Linked DNA regions of Homo sapiens: region 1 is linked to region 2. The links are contacts of gene promoters, found by promoter capture Hi-C in blood cells and fetal thymus (Javierre and others, 2016). All regions are on one chromosome and are shown on one strand. The core of a region is centred on a gene start or on the middle of the fragment in contact, and the rest is flanking DNA. Distances in the headings are between cores, read along the strand shown.

Region 1 (5,728 bases), core at 2,416-4,915, 520 kb before region 2:
TAGTTTTTTACTGATATGAATAAAGGTGCTATGACATTTACACACAAGTATTTGTGTGTATATATATATATATGCTTCCCTTATATATATTTTTCATATATATTTTCCATTTTCCATATAAATATTCCATTTATATATATATATGGAAGCATATATATAAATATATATAAATGGAAGCATACATATATACACAAATACTTGTACACAAATGTCATAGCACCTTTATTCATAACAGTTTTTTACTGTAAACAACCCAAATGTTTATCAACAGGTGAATGAATACACAATGTTCTGTATATCCATGCAATGGAATGCTATTCAGCAATTAAAAGGAATGTACTACTGGAACATGCAACAAAATGGATAAATCTCAAAAACACTCTGCTGAGTGAAAGAAGTAAGAAACAAAGGGGTGCAAACTATATAATTTCATTTATATGCAATTCTGGAACAAGAAAAGTATAACAAAAAAACAGATCAATGATTGTCTGGAGTTAGGGGTGAAAGAACTGACTGCACAGGGGCACAAGGGAATTTGGGGTGAGGTAGTGATGGAAATGTCCTATATTTTAATTGTGTTGGTTACATAGGTGAATAAATTTGTCAAAATTCATCAAACTGTACACTTTAACTTAGTGCATTTTATTTTATGTAACTTATAATTCAATAAACTTGATTTTTTTTAACAATGAGCTAAATACTTGAAAGGCATTTCTCAAAAAAAAAGATATCCAAATGGCCAATAGGGCATTTGAAAAAGTGCTCAACATCAATGATTATTAGGTAAATTTAAGTCCACCAATGAGTTACAACTACATGACCATAAGAATGACTTAAATTAAAAATACTGACAATAGTAAGTGTCAACATGGAAGTGGTGCACCTGGAACTTTTATACATTGCTGGTGTGAGTAAAATTTTAACTATGTTGGAAAAACATTTGACAGAATACTTAAATAACCCATATGCCTGCCCTATGATGCAATAATAGATATATTTTGCTATATATCTAGATATATTTTCCAAGATAAATGAGTACATGTATTTAAAAATGATATGTACAGAGTGTTCCCATTGATTTTATTCATAATAGTCTCAAACTGAAAACAACAAAAATTCCATTAACAGTAGATGGAATAAATGTTAAATTCATATAATGGAATACTACACAAAAATTAAAAATAGACTACTAGCACACGCAACAACATTGATGAATCTAACTGAAATATATTGAATGAAAGAAGTAGAACTAAAGAGTACATACTGTGTCATTCCGTGAGTATTACACTAAAAATTGACAAAACTAATTTATGATGATAGAAGTCAGAATAGTAGTCTTCTATGAGGATAACTGGGAAGGGGCAAAATGAGCCTGCTAGATGCTGAAAATATTCTATATCTTGGTCCGGCCATGGTTACGAGGTGTTTACATGTATAAACATTCATGAAGCTGCACACTTAAGACTTGTGCACTTTATTATATATAAGTTATAGTCAACACATTTAGAAATGCAAATGGAATAAGCAATTTAGTAAAAAGACAAAGATTTTCAAGTTAGATTTTAAAAACACAACTCTGTGCTCTTTAAAAGAGACACTTTGCCTAAAGCATGGAAGAAAGTCAAATATAAAAGAGCGGGAAAAGATACACACCATGTAAGCAATAACTAGAAGAAAGTTGATATAGCTATATTATTATGACTCAAAGTATACTTACGGAAAGAAGGATATTTCATAATGGCAAAGGAATTCAACAACAGAATTCAAAGATTAAGAAAGAATTAAATGGAAGATACAAAAATCACTAGTTCGTAGGGGCATAATACAACCTCAACAGGGAGATGTAAAAATCATAAATGTTTGTGCACACAATTTCACATTTTTTTTATTATACTTTAAGTTTTAGGGTACATGTGCACATTGTGCAGGTTAGTTACATATGTATACATGTGCCATGCTGGTGCGCTGCACCCACTAACTCGTCATCTAGCATTAGGTATATCTCCCAATGCTATCCCTCCCCCCTCCCCCCAAATTTCACATTTTTAAATACATAACACATAAGTTCATGTAACAAAGCAGAAATAGACAAATCTACAACTGTAGTATGAAAAATTAACACATTTCTCAAAGTAAATCAGAAAATGCAGAAAGTCAGTACTTATATAAAGATATAAACAACACAACAGATGAAGTCGACCTAATCGACATACATAGAATACCATTTGCAAAAATAGCAGAAAACACACTATATTCGAGAGCTCACAGAACATTTCCCAAAAAAGACCATATGTTGAGTGATGAAGCAAGTTTCAACAAATTGTTAAGACTGAAGTAATATAGGAGAGGCTCTGTAACCAAAATGAAAATTAACTAGAAACCAATATTAAATAAATATCCCCAAACCTTCAATTGTTTGAAAATGAAGCAATACCTTATAAATAATTGATAGGTCAAAAAAATACAGTGGAAAGCTGAAAATATTTTGAATTGAATAATCTATTTTGACATAAACTATCAAAGTGTAAGATTCAGCTAGATCAGTTTTCAGTAGGAAGATTAAAGTTTTAAATGCATGAACTAAAATGAAAAAAGTTGAACATCAACGATCTAATCTTCCTGCTCAAAAAGCTAGTAAAACAAATTAACCTAAAGAAAATATAAGAAAGGAAATGATAACAAGGACAGAAAACATTGCAATAGAAAGCTTATGTACAGGCCAGACACCTTTTTCCACTATTTTATATTTGACTTTCCTGCATGCTTTAGGCAAAGGGTCTCTTTTAAGGAGCACAGAGTTGTGTTTTTAAAATCTAATTTGAAAGTCTTTGTCTTTTTACTAAAGGCTCACACCCATATTCACAGCACTTTGGGAGGCTGAGGCAGGCGGATCACTTGAGCTCAGGAGTTCAAGACAGCATGGGCAACATGGTGAAACCCCACCTCTACAAAAAATACAAAAATTAGCCAGGCATGGTGGCATATGCCTATAGTCCCAGCTACTCGGGGTGTTGAGGTGGGAGGATTACCTGAACCTGTGGAGGTTGAGGCTGCACAGTGAGCCATGATCACACCACTGCACTCCAGCATGGGTGACAGAGCAAGACCCTGTCTCAAAAGAGAGAGAGAGAGAGAGAGAGAGAGAGAGAGAGAGAAAGTAAGTAAGTTAGTTTATGTACAATTGAAAAAATTTTTAAAGTCAGAATTTAGTACTTTAGTAACAATATATATAAAGTATAACATATTATGACAAAGTAGGGTTTGTCCCATTAATAAAAGATTCTTTAACATTTGAAAATCAATGCAATTTGCCATATTAATGGAATAAAGGAGAACATCTATATGATGATCTCAGCATTTGCAGAAAACACACTTGATAAAATTCAGCATTCATATCTCAGCAATTAGGAATAGAATACAACTTCTTCAACCTGATTGAGGACTGTATTAGTCCGTTCTCATGCTGCTATAAGAACAAACCTGAGACTGGGTAATTTACAAAGGAAAGAGGTTTAATTGACTCACAATTCCTCAGGGCTGGGGAGGCCTCAGAAAACTTACAATCACGGTGGAAGAGGAAGCAGACATGTCCTTCTTCACAAAGCAGCAGGAGAGAGAAGAATGAGAGCCTAGCGAAGGGGGAAGCCCCTTATAAAACGATCAGATCTCACGAGAACTTACTCACTGTCATGAGAATAGCAAGAGGGAAGCTGCCCCAATGATTCAATTACCTCCCAACCGGTCCCTCCCATGACACATGGAGATTATGGGAACTGCAATTCAAGATGAGTTTTGGTGGGGACACAGCCAAACTATATCAAGGACATTACATGAAACCTAAAACTAGCATCATAGTCAATGGTGAAAGATCGAATACTTCCCCCCTAATATCAGCAACAAGGCAATGATGTCCACTCCCACCACTTTTATTCAACATTGTACTGGGAGTCCTAGTCAGCACCATAAGGCAAGAAGAAGAGATAAAAGGAATACAGATTCAAAAGGAATAAATTAAAACTGTTTATTTGCAAACAACATGATTATGCTCACAGAAAATTTCAAGGAACCTACCAAAAAGCTACTAGAACTAATAGGTGAATTTAGCAAGGTCACTGGACAATAGGGCAATATACAAATATCAATTATATTTCTGTATAGTAGCAATGAAAAAAATGAAAAATGATGTTAAGAAGATAATTCTATTTACAACAGCATGTAAACAGAGAAAACAATTAGGGATAAATTTTACAAAATTTTTTATAAGATCTGTACAGTGAAAACTACAAAATACTGCCAAGGAAACTGAAGAAGACCTAAATAAATTTAATATGCCAGGTTCATGGAAGGAAGACTTAATATCATTAAAGATGTCAATTCTTCCAAATTTGATGTATGCACTCATGAAAATACTATTCAAAATCTCAGCAGCTTTCAAAAAATTGATAAGGCAATGTAAAATCATGTATGAAAAATCAACAAACTTAGAATAGCCAAGAAAATTAAGGAGGAAGAGAAAAAGGAGGAAGAGGAAGGAAGGGGAGGTATCGAGAGAAGGAGAAGCAAAGGAAGAACCACCACCTCCAACACTATCCTAACACTATCCTCCAACACTATCAAGCTTAAGTACTTATACTACTAGATAGCAATAATTATTATAAAGCTATAGTAATTAAGCAGTGTGGTATTGATAAAACCATAAACAGGCAAGTGGAATAAAACAGACAGCTAGGAAACAAATCTACACATACAGTAACTTGCTTCATGACAGAATCATCACTACTACTCAGTGGTGAAAAGATAATTCTGGGTAAAGTGAATACTCATAAGGAATAATTAACCTTGACCTCTAACTCACATCATACACAAACATTAATTAATTCTAGAAGAAAAGTAGAAGAATATTTTCATTATATTCAGGGAAGCAAAACTTTCTTAAATGGACAGAAAAAAATAGCCAAAAAAAGCGATAAATTGAGCTTCATTAAAGCTAAGAATATCTTTTAATCAAAAGACAAGATAAAAATAAAGAGGAAAAGGGCCAGACACAGACTGGAAGAAGATCTGTATATATGCTGATACATATTCAGAACATATATAATAAACTTTTATATATCAGTAAGAATAGATTGACAAAGTTTTAAAATAACAGGCATACAAAATGGACATCCAAATGATGCACCCATCATTATTCACTGGATAAATATAAGGCTACAAAGAGGTACAGCTAACCTACCCTTCTCCCCCACCAATCAGAATGGCTAAAATTTAAAGTACTGACCATACTGTTGCTGTGGATGTGAAGTAACTTAACTTTTGATACATTGCTGGCAAGAGAATAAATTTGGTGCAGCCACTTTGGAATATACTTTAGTTATACAGACATACATCCGATAAAAATTTGTCAAGGTGTACATGAGATTGGTACATTTTACCATATATGTTACATCTCAATAACAAGAAAGAATCAGAAATATGAGTGATATGGTTTGGCTGTGTTTCCACCCAAATCTCATCTTGAATTTCCATGTGTTGTGGGAGGGACCCAGTGAAAGGTAATTGAATCATGGGGGCAAGTCTTTCCCATGCTGTTCTCATGATGCTGAATAAGTCTCACAAGATCTGATGGTTTTAAAAAGAGGAGTTCTCCTGCCAAAGCTCTCTCTCTTTGCCTGCTGCCATCCATGTAAGACGTGACTTTCTCCTCCTTGCCTTCCTCCATGATTGTGAG
Region 2 (5,616 bases), core at 283-2,782:
CGGGCACCTGTAATCCCAGCTACTCAGGAGGCTGAAGCAGGAGACTCGCTTGAACCCAGGAGGCAGAGGTTGTAGTGCGCCGAGATCGTGCCATTGCACTCCAGCCTGGGCGACAAGAGTGAAACTCCAGCTCAAAAAAAAGAAAGAAAGAAAGAAATTAAGTCTGACTCAATGACAGAAGTACATGTAAGGTGCCAGTAGTACAGAAAAAGGAGTAATTAATTTTGAGTGGAAGTCGGGGTCACCACTAACGAAACTAATCTGATCACTCAGTCCTCCTGCCACCCAAAATCCTATGGACAAAGCAGATAGTTTCCATCACAAACCTCTGCTTCCACAAACATGTTGAATTCATCTGCTCATTACCCACAAATTTACAGCTATGATACAAAATCAGTCTACATATGTCATGATTAACCCCACCTACACATAGACAAAGGTTATAAAGACACTGTTAAGCATTTCCTAGGGAATAATTTCCCCTCCAAATATTTATTTCCTCATTTGTAAGATGGGGATATTAGCACGTAACTCGCAAGATTATTATAAGAGTTAAATAAAACGATGTATATAAAGTGCTTAGCACAATGTTTGGTACAATAACCTCTTTGAAGCATCAAACTTGTACAATTACTGATTGTGATATAAAGTGAATACAGTAATGGTAACGTGGCCATGGACTAGAAAGCAGGAGCTAGAGGAGCAAAGTGAATTCTGGAAGGGAAGGGGAATGGGGGAGGGTGGTGGTAGCAATATGGAGCTGTGGCTAAGACCAAGAGTTCTAGAATGCTATAGTTCTGCCTGTTGCGCTTACTAGCTATGTGACCTTAAGGAAGTCCCTTAACTTCTCTGCACCCCAATTTCCTCAGCAGTATAATGGGTCAGAGGGTGAGAGAGAAATAACAACAGTCCCTGAACCTTAGCACAGCAAATGGCAAACAGTAACTCTCATGAGCACTGATTTGGCAGGGAAGGAAAACTAAAAATGGGGCAGAAAAGAGATGTAACACGGATTCCCGGGCAGACAGCAGATGGATATGAAGGTGGGCGATGAATGTAAGCAGGAGTGAAGGGTGAAAATGCCGAAATAGTCGGAAACCGAGCAGGAGAATCTGGAGAGCACTGAGGAAGAAAGATGTGGACCTCACCCAGGAAGATCCAGGCGCTGTCCTTGTACTCGGAGTGCCAGGACACCTTATCGGCCACCCCAAGCTGGACCTCTCGTTCATTCAGCTCGTTGATCAGCTTCACCTTAGTTAAAGGGCTTCACGGTGGCGGGGGGGGTGGGGAGGGTAGGCAGAAAAGCAGACAAGTAAGTGCGAACCGGCCGGAGCTGAGGAAGAGCAAAACTAGGGGACGAGCTGTTCCAGTCCCCGCGCCGCTCCCGCCCCTCGGCCCCGCAGACGCTCTACCACACCAGTCCCGGTGGACCACCCCCAGTGGCCCGCTGCTCCTTCCTCAAAAGGAAGCTGACGCCTTACTTCATCTCCTCGGGTTCGCGCTCAGCACTCAGGAATCAGCGCCCGGGAAAGGCAGCGCAGCGCATGCGCGGCCCCGGCGCCAGTGGCCAGTCGATTCGGTGACCTCGCGCCGGAAGAGCCGGGGCGTACCGGGGCGTGGCGCCTGCGCACTAGCAGCCTTCCGCGCTGCGTGCGGTTACCTCTTGGAGAGGTGGTTTTTCTCTAGTTTTTCGCTTTTTCTTCTCTGTGAAATGGGGTAAAGGCACAAGCCTGGGCTGTTGCAGGACCCCCACCTCTTGAACGATATCTGAAACTGGTTAGATTAGCTATAAATATTTGCTGAGTGAACGGAACAAGCAGCCTGATGTGGCGACTTTAGTCTCAGCCCTCGCTCCCAGTCCAGAGTCCCACTTGGACCTTCGCTCCTAGTCAGTTGCTAAAGCACAGACCCATCAAAGCATCCCTGTCATGGCAGAAAAGTGAAGAAGATAGGTGAAAAGGTAAATCTTCTGTTGTCCTTATCCCAATACATAGGCAACAGACCAGTGTGCTTCTATAGGCTGAATCGAATACCTACACATTTGCATGAGAACTGCTGCACTTACTCTTTTCCATAGGCTCTCTCCTAGTTGAGCAGGAGGCAGAAATTAATATTGTTAAATTAATAGCTAACAATTGAGCAGATGATGTACTATACGATGCTAGAGTATGTACTAAGCAATTTACATGTATTGTCTCTCCACCCTCACAACAACCCAATAAAGCAGAGAAAATTACAATCCCTAGCCGGGCACAGCAGCTCAGCCTGTAATCCCAGCACTTTGGGAAGCTGAGGTAGGAGGATTGCTTGAGCTCAGGAGTTCGAGACCATCCTGGGCAACATAGCAAGACCCTGTCTCTAAAATAAAGGGAAAAAAAGGGGGGCCAAGTGTGGTGGCTCATGCCTGTCATCCCAACACTTTGGGAGGCTAAGACGGGTGGATCACCTGAAGTCGGGAGTTCAAGACCAGCCTGGCCAAGATGGTGAAACTCTGTCTCTACTAAAAATACAAAAATTAGCCAGGCATGGTGTCACACGCCTGTAATCTCAGCTACTCAGGGGGCTGAGGCAGGAGAATCACTTGAACCTGGGAGGCAGAGATTGCAGTGAGCTGAGATCGCACCACTGCACTCTAGCCTGGGCAGCAGAGTGAGACTCCTTTTTATTTAAAAAAAAAAAGAAAGAAAAGAAAAAAAATTTCCACCCTCATTTTGTAGAGGAAGAAATGAGGCTCAAAGGAATAAATTAACTTGAAAGGTACTCTACCTGCACCCGTCAGGTCAGGTTGATTTAATCAGTCCTTACTGAACATCTAGATTTGTCCTGTACAGCTAAGGTCTGTAGACAGGAGTATCAGGGTGGGTCCTCTGCCTTCAAGGAGCTAATATTATAATTAAGGGGACAAGATATATTTGCTTGATAGATTTCAACCAGAAATATCTAGAAACCAGTGGAAGAGATTATTAATGTATAATATGTGATTTAACCCATATTGACAGTTTGAATCCATTTTGCATGTGTCCACATCAATACCTGCTCTTGGACTATGATGTTCTAAAAGTGAAAGTCCAGAGCTGTGCGGCCTAACTCAGAGCACCAGATATTAGGTCCTTCATAAAAGCATTTTGATGATGATAACAACTGTACCCTCAAGTGGCCCACCATGTAACCAATGTCCTGCCAAGAAGGAGAACAGAGGCTGCCCACCAATGACAGTTCCTCCTCATTCATTCTGTGTCTGTTCCCCCCTCCCCATTCCAACCCAGCTATTCATTAACTTTGTAAAATTATCTTGGCAATGAAAGCTAAACAGTGACAGATTGCACATGGGGTTTATCTGCTCCTAGGAATCTCAGGTTGCTTAGTTGTGGGTTGAAGTAGCCATTGCAGAGTGGTAAACTAGCATGCAGCATTATCTTGCTGACTTCTTCAAATGGCTGTGAAATGAGAGAGTTAAGACTATACCTGGGGATTAGTCATCAGTGTTCCGAGAGAAGCTGGAGCAAAAGAGTAGAATAAGACCAATTTAGATTGAGAACATGAGAAGGCTATTATTACTATGCAGCTGGTAGGTTCAGCAGAGGTATTCTGAAGGTGAGAGAGCTGAATATTGCTCCAGTTTTCCTGGAACTGAGAGGTTTCTGAGACTTCTGACTTTTGGAGCTAAAATTGGCAACCCCAGAACAAACCATGATGGTTGATCACCCTAGGAGATCCTGAAGTAAATAACGAAGCAAGGAAGTCGGATTTTCCATAGATGTACTTGCATTTGGCAGGAATTGGTAGGTAAGATGATGCCTAGAGATACCCGTAAGTCTGAGTTGAAAAGAGGTGGGGATGCAGAGGACCCTCTGAATCTAACATCTGAAAGTAGAACGAGGGTTTGGCATCCAAGGTGGCTATAAGTGATCTCCACCAATAGCATCCATTTAGAAAATATTCTATGCAGTATTTAGTTCTAGCTTCTGAGGGTAATGCTAAGGTAGTCAAAGGCAGTCCCCACATTCAAGGAAAGGCTGAACTATCTAGCCAGAGTCATCTCCCAACTTCCCACCACCACACCACACCCCCAAACAGTTTTTCCTCCAGACTTCCCTATTTTGGGCAATATTATCACCATTTTCCTGGTTGCCCATACTCAAAAACATGGGTTTCATATTTCAGTCTTCCCTATTCTTCACCTCAACATATCCATTCACTCACCAAGTCCTAACAATTGTACTATTGAAGTATCTATAAAATGTGTCTCTTCCAGTCACAGTCCTATCTGAGCCATTAGTACATGCCTCCTAGCTCTTTCAGTACTCTTCTAGCTGCCCCAGCCCCTACTCTCCATTCTCTTCTGTCACTGCTCCCCCACTAAAAAACTCAACTTAAGCCGGGCTCCACTTCTATCCATTCCCTCGAAGGCCCCTTTCATCATCCCACCTAGGCACCTCTGCTGAGAGAGCCTCATAGCCCTGGACCACCCTCCTCTCTCTCACTGAAATCTGCCCAAGCCCCAAGCCCCCAACAAGTCATTCATCATGCAGGAAACCTTTCCCGATCTTATGTGCCCACAGTGATGGCTCTCACTTCTGAACTCTGTAACACTACAGAACTCCTTTATGTTCTTCTCCCAGAAAGACCATGAAATCCTGGAAGGTAAAGGATCTGCATTTATAAGCCCCTCAGAACCTCAAGCCTCGAACATTTTCCTATATACATAGAATGCAACCAATATACTTACTGGTTAATGAAATTGAAAAATCACACAACTATGATTACCTTTAGGAAAACAGATGAGGGTAGGGGTAGAGAAGACTTTATTTTATTTTCCCTTTGTTCATTTCTATATGGTTAGAATTTTCCTTTTTTTATTTTTATTTTTATTTTTATTTATTTATTTTTTTTTTTTGAGACAGAGTCTCACTCTGTCACGCAGACTGTAGTGCAGTAGTGCAATCTTGGCTCACTGCAACCTCCGCCTCCCAGGTTCAAGCAATTCTCCTGCCTCAGCCTCCCAAGTAGCTGGGACTACAGGCGTGTGCCACCACAGGAAGACAGCGAGGAAGCCATGTGAGTGTCTGGTAAAACAGTATTGTTCTGAGACACTCTTTTGAGTGTATTTCAGAAACAGAAAGGAGGCCAGTGTGGCTGGAGAGGAGTAGGCAAGGGGGAGAATGATAGATTTTTGTTTATTTGAGAAAATCTTACTTAGTACCTACCATGTACCTGACACTGTTCTAGGTACTTTACATGTATAAATTCATTTACTTCTTGCAACAACCCTATGAGGCAGATATTATTATCCTCACTTGGTAAATGAGAAAAGAGAGGCACAGAGAGGTTAGGTTGCTTGCCCTAGGTCACACAGCTGGTAAATGGTAGAACCAGGATTTGAATCCAGGTCATATAGCTCCAAAGTCTGCACTCTTAACCCCTATACACAGGATAAGTTGAGGTAAAGAGAACAGATCAAACATGGCCATGCTGGGTACTGGCTTTGGAATTTACTCAGTGTGAGGTAGGGAGTCACCAAAGAACTTTGATCTGATGTACATTTTAGTAGGTTCACCTTAGCTGCTGTGTTGATAACAGACCAGGGAGGGGGCAGGGGGTGCCTACAGTAGAAGC

The links. The method cuts DNA at HindIII sites, captures the fragments that hold promoters and counts their contacts. A CHiCAGO score of 5 or more calls a contact.
Region 1: a fragment that was not itself captured here is called in contact with the fragment with the promoter of RBMX2 in region 2 in 7 of 17 cell types (monocytes, M1 macrophages, erythroblasts and 4 more); the score reaches 10.9 in monocytes.

The regions. Positions count from the first base shown.
Region 1 is chrX:130,920,556-130,926,283 of GRCh38, reverse strand. No RefSeq gene overlaps it. Among named protein-coding and RNA genes, the nearest start is that of ENOX2, 20 kb to the right of the region's middle. The HindIII fragment of the contact is 1,911 bases long and covers 2,710-4,620 here.
Region 2 is chrX:130,397,903-130,403,518 of GRCh38, reverse strand. RBMX2 (RNA binding motif protein X-linked 2) reads right to left here and starts at 1,532. Exons shown (of 6, transcript NM_016024.4): 1 at 1,482-1,532; 2 at 1,149-1,264. The coding sequence starts at 1,486. The HindIII fragment of the contact is 29,468 bases long and covers 1-5,616 here.